2 separate regions of the Homo sapiens genome follow, and region 2 is linked to region 1. The links are contacts of gene promoters, found by promoter capture Hi-C in human tissues and cell types (Jung and others, 2019). All regions are on one chromosome and are shown on one strand. Each heading gives the region's core, a stretch centred on a gene start or on the middle of the fragment in contact. The rest is flanking DNA. Distances are from core to core; before and after follow the strand shown. Region 1 holds the start of ARSH (arylsulfatase family member H). Region 2 overlaps ARSF (arylsulfatase F).

The links. The method cuts DNA at HindIII sites, captures the fragments that hold promoters and counts their contacts. A contact is called where the count stands out against the background at its distance.
Region 2: a fragment that was not itself captured here is called in contact with the fragment with the promoter of ARSH in region 1 in 2 of the 25 tissues and cell types used here (pancreas and small bowel).

Annotation. Positions count from the first base shown.
Region 1 is chrX:3,005,091-3,008,005 of GRCh38, reverse strand. It overlaps ARSH (arylsulfatase family member H), which reads right to left and starts at 1,460. Exons shown (of 9, transcript NM_001011719.2): 1 at 1,302-1,460. The coding sequence starts at 1,393. The HindIII fragment of the contact is 37,610 bases long and covers 1-2,915 here.
Region 2 is chrX:3,058,842-3,061,756 of GRCh38, reverse strand. All of the region lies in intron 1 of ARSF (arylsulfatase F), which reads right to left. Among named protein-coding and RNA genes, the nearest start is that of ARSF, 19 kb to the right of the region's middle. The HindIII fragment of the contact is 3,666 bases long and covers 1-2,915 here.

The DNA of each region.
Region 1 (2,915 bases), core at 211-2,710:
TGTATTTGAAGATGGAGTCTTTATAGAGGTGATTAAGGTAGCATGAGGTCGTTAAAGTGGACCCTTATCCAATAGGACTGGGGTCTTTATAAGAAGAGGAAATGAGGACACAGACACACACAGAGGGATGACCCTGTGAGGACACAGGGAGAAGACGGCATCTCCAAGCCCAGGAGAGAGGCCTCAGGAGGAACCAGCCCTGCAGACACCTTGATCTCAGACTTCCAGCCTCCAGGACTGTGGGAGAATCAATGTCTGTTGTTTCTAAGCCACCCAGTCTATGGTATTCTTTTATAGCAGCCTGAAATAGACTAAGACACCTCATAAGAAGAAGAGATGAGGACACAGACCCACACAGAGGGACGACCCTGTGAAGACACAGGGAGAAGACGGCATCTACAAGGACAGGAGAGAGGCCTCAGGAGGAACCAGCCCTGCCCACACTTTGATCTTGAACTTCCAGCCTCCAGGACTGTGAGAGAATAAGCTGATGTTATCTAAGCCAACCAGTCTGTGGACCTTTGTCACGGCAGCCTGAGAAAATAAATACTTTATATGATTACTTGTATATGAAATTCTAAGAAGAGACACATCCATAGAGACAGAGGGTACATTTGTGGTTAACAGGGCATGGGGATAGGATGGGAAATGGGGGTCTTCTTTGTGGGGGTGACGGTTGTCCAACACTGTGAATGTACCAAATGCCACTGAATTGTTCACTTTAAAATGGTTAAAAGGTGATTTTTTTTTTTTTTTTTAAACAGAGTCTCCCTCTGTCACCCAGGCTGGAGTGCAGTGGTGGGATCATAGCTCACTGCAGCCTCAATCTCCCTTGCTCAGGCAATCCTCCTGCCCCAGCCTCCTGAGTAGCTGAGACCACAGACACACGCCACCATGTCCCAGTAGATTTTTTTTTTTATTATTTTTGTAGAGACGGGGTCTCCCTGTGTTGCCCAGGCTGATCGCAAACTCCTGGGCTCAAGCAATGCTCCCACCTTGGCCTTCCAAAGTGCTGGGATTATAGGCTTGAGCCGCCATGCCTGATCAAAAAAGGCCAATTTTTAAATGTAAATTTTGCCCAACAATGAAAACGCCACCACCAACAGCTAGAATCTAAGGAAACTGGGAGGTTAAGTGGTCTCCTGACATTTTGCAATTTTCCCCAGTGACCTCTGCTATTCCTGCCGATAACATCAGACAATGACTTCTCTCCAGAAACCCTTCTCTGCAACGGCAAAGACGTGAACACTGTGGTAAGGGAGACTCCCACATACAGGGAGGGGGTCAGAGTCCATCTTTACCTCACTGAGTTATTACCGTAGCAGCACAAATCCCCCACTCCAAGGTCATCTGCCATCAGCAGGACAATGTTGGGTCTGGCGTTTCTTGTCATAAATGTGCCATCAACACCGCAAAACAAACAGCACAGGGACACTGACAGCCAGCAGCTCCTGAAAGCATTTTTAGAAATAAGCAAACAAACAAGCAAGCAAAAAACCAGGCACTATCAATTAACATTTGCATTTTAGATAACTTAACATATGAAACAGTGATATTCGTTATCAGTTCTCACTGTACAACGTACCTGTGTTGTCTTACTCAGAAACTAGATTAAACAACAACAACAAAAACTAATGTTCTATACCGGGGTCCCCAATCCCCTGGCCATGGACCAGTACTGGTCCGTAGCCTGTTAGCAACCAGGCCACACAGCAGGAGGTGAGTGGTGGGCAAATGAGTGAAGCTTCATCTGTATTGACAGCCGCTCCCCATTGCTTGCATCACTGCCTGAGCTCCACCTCCTGTCAGATCGGTAGCAGCATTAGATTCTCATAGGAGCGAGAACTCTATTGTGAACTGTGCATGCAAAGGATCTAGGTTGTGTGCTCTTTATGAGAATCTAATGCCTGATGATCTGTCTCTGTCTTCCATCACCCCCAGATGGGATCATCTAGTCACAGGAAAACAAGCTTAGGGCACCCACTGATCATACACTACGATGAGTTGTATAATTATTTCATTATATATTATCGTGTAATAATAATAAAAATAAAGTGCACAATAAATGTAATGTGCTTGAATCATCCTGAAACCATCCTGCACCCCCTTCCTGTCTGTGGAAAAACCGTCTTCCACAAAACCAGACCCTGGTGCCAAAAATGTTGGAGACCATTGTTCTATACGAATATGGCATCATATTTTACCAATTCATTTTGCAAGCATGATGAGGTTTAACTCTTATAACATCTTTTGATATTGTTTTAGTGACATCAGAGGCTTAAAATTTATAACAGGGGTTACAGTTGAGGGTAAGCTCTAAAAATTGAATTTTGCCGGGTGCTGTGACTCATGCCTGTAATCCCAGCACTTTGGAAGGCCAATGCGGGTGGATCATTTGAGCCCAGAAGTTTGAGACTGGCCTGGGCAGCATGGTGAAACCCCATCTCTACAAACAATACAAAAATAGCTGGGCATAGTGATGCATTCCTATAATCCCAGCTACTCAGGAGGCTGAGATGAGAGGATTGCTTGAGCCTGAGAGGTCAGGATTGCAGTGAGCTATGAATGCACCACTGCACTCCAGCTTAGACAATAGAGCAAGACCCTATCTCAAAAAAAACTTTTTTGTTTACTTTATTGAATAAAAATGTAACCAAGGCCGGGCACAGTGGCTCATGCCTGTAATCCCAGTGCTTTGAGAGGCCAAGGCAAGTGGAATACCTGAGGTCAGGAGTTTGAGACCAGCCTGACAAACATGGTGAAACCCCATCTCTACTAAAAATACAAAATTAACCGGGCATGGTGACACGCGCCTGTGGTCCCAGCTACTTCAGAGGCTGAGGCAGGAGAATCACTTGAACCCAGGAGGCGGAGGTTGCAGTGAGCTGAAATTGCACCACTGCACTCCAGCCTGG
Region 2 (2,915 bases), core at 191-2,690, 54 kb before region 1:
GATAGTTAGGTCTTCTTGTTGAATTGATCCCTTTACCATTATGTAACGGCCTTCTTTCTCTCTTTTGATCTCTGTTGGTTTAAAGTCTGTTTTATCAGAGACTAGGATTGTAACCTCTGCTTTTTTTTTGCTTTCCATTTGCTTGGTAGATCTTCCTCCATCCCTTTATTTTGAGCCTACATGTGTCTCTGCACATGAGATGGGTCTCCTGAATACAGCACACTGTTGGGTCTTGACTCTATCCAATTTGCCAGTCTGTGTCTTTTAATCAGGGCAGTTAACCCATTTACATTTAAGGTTAATATTGTTAGGTGTGAATTTGATCCTGTCATTATGATGTTAGCTGGTTATTTTGCTCGTTAGTTGATGCAGTTTCTTCCTAGCATCGATGGTCTTTACAATTTGGCATGTTTTTGCAGTGGCTGGTACTGGTTGTTCCTTTCCATGTTTAGTGCTTCCTCCAGGAGCTCTCGTAGGGCAGGCCTGGTGGTGACAAAATCTCTCAGCATTTGCTTGTCTGTAAAGGATTTTATTTCTCCTTCACTTGTGAAGCTTAGTATGGCTGGATATGAAATTCTGGATTGAAAATTCTTTTCTTTAAGAATGTTGAACATTGGCCCCCACTCTCTTCTGGCTTGTAGAGTTTCTGCCGAGAGATCCACTGTTAGTCTGATGGGCTTCCCTTTGTGGGTAACCCGACCTTTCTCTCTGGCTGCCCTTAACATTTTTTCCTTCATTTCAACTTTGGTGAATCTGACAATTATGTGTCTTCTCGAGGAGTATCTTTGTGGCTTTCTCTATATTTCCTGAATTTGAATGTTGGCCTGCCTTGCTAGGTTGGGGAAGTTCTCCTGGATAATATCCTGATGAGTGTTTTCCAACTTGGTTCCATTCTCCCTGTCACTTTCAGGTACACCAATCAGATGTAGATTTGGTCTTTTCACATAGTCCCATATCTCTTGGAGGCTTTGTTCATTTCTTTTTACTCTTTTTTCTCTAAACTTCTCTTATCACTTTATTTCATTCATTTGATCTTCAATCACTGATACCCTTTCTTCCACTTGATTGAATCGGCTATTGAAGCTTGGGCATGCATCACGTAGCTCTTATGCTGTGGTTTTCAGCTCCGTCAGGTCATTTAAGGTCTTCTCTACACTATTTATTCTAGTTAGCTGTTCGTCTAATCTTTTTTCAAGGTTTTTAGCGTCCTTGCGATGGGTTTGAACATTTCCTTTAGCTCGGAGAAGTTTGTTATTACCGACCTTCTGAAGCCTACTTCTGTCAGCTCGTCAAAGTCATTCTCCATCCAGCTTTCTTCCGTTGCTCGTGAGGAGCTGCAACCCTTTGGAGGAGAAGAGGCACTCTGGTTTTTAGAATTTTCAGCTTTTCTGCTCTGGTTTCTCTCCATCTTTGTGGTTTTACCTACCTTTTGTCTTTGATGCTGGTGACCTACAGATGGAGTTTTGGTGTAGATGTCCTTTTTGTTGATGTTGATGCTATTCCTTTCTGTTTGTTAGTTTTCCTTCTGACAGTCAGATCCCTCACCTGCAGGTCTGTTGGAGTTTGCTGGAGGTCCACTCCAGACCCTGTTTGCCTGGATATCACCAGTGGAGGCTGCAGAACAGCAAATATTGCAGAACAGCAAATATTGCTGCCTGATCCTTCCTCTGGAAGCTTTGTCCCAGAGGGGCACCACCTGTATGAGTTGTCAGTTGGCCCCTACTGGGAGGTGTCTCCCAGTTAGGCTACAAGGGGGTCAGGGACCCACTTGAGGAGGCAGTCTGTCCATTCTAAGACCTCAAACACCATGCTGGGAGCACCACTGCTCTCTTCAGAGCTGTCAGACAGGGACGTTTAAGTCTGCAGAAGTTTCTGCTGCCTTTTGTTCAGCTATACCCTGCCCCCAGAGGTGGAATCTACAGAGGCAGTAGGCCTTGCTGAGCTGCAGTGGGCTCTGCCCAGTTCGAGCTTCCCTGGCCACATTGTTTACCTACTCAAGCCTCAGCAATGTTGGATGCCCACCCCCCCAGCCAGGCTGCTGCCTCACAGTTCAATCTCAGACTGCTGTGCTAGCAGTGAGCAAGGCTCTGTGGGAGTGGGAACTGCCGAGCCAGGTGCAGGATATAATCTCCTGGTGTGCTCTTTGCTAAGACCATTGGAAAAGTGCAGTATGTGGGCGAGAGTGTCCCAGTTTTCCAGGTACAGTCTGTCACAGCTTCCTTGGCTAGGAAAGGGAAATCCTCTGACACTTCCCAGGTGAGGCAATGCCCTGCCCTGTTTCGGCTTGCCCTCTGTGGGCTGCACCCACTGTCCAACCAGTCCCAATTAGATGAACAAGATACCTCAGTTGGAAATGCAGAAATCACCCGTTTTCTGTGTTGATCACGCTGGGAGCTGTAGACCGGAGCTGTTTCTATTTGGCCATCTTGGAATGGAATCCCAATTTTTGTATTTTTAGTAGAGACGGGGTTTCACCATGTTGGTCAGGCTGGTCTCAAACTCCTGATCTCAGGTGATCCACCCACCCCAGCCTCCCAAAGTGCTGGGATTACAAGCATGAGCCACCGTGCCTGGCCGCATTTTCAATCCAAACAATAAAATACAAAGAATAAAAGTGACTGTAATTCAGATTCCCATGGCAGCTCCATGACCATCGGTTTGCAGTCTCATTGGTGAATTAGTTAAGTGACTCTGCTTTCTACAGATTCCTCTCCTCCCAGCTTCCAGGACTCTCTCAATTCATTCTGTTTCTCCATGGAATAAGTATTCACTTTGAGGACTTCTTTCAGAATCCCTACTTATAATCACAGAAAGGTTTTCCACCTTCATGCAACTGCTCATGGTAAAATCTTGGTTTCTAAAGAATTTACTAATCTCTTTTTTTCTTTTTCTTTTAGAGACAGGGTCTCATTCTG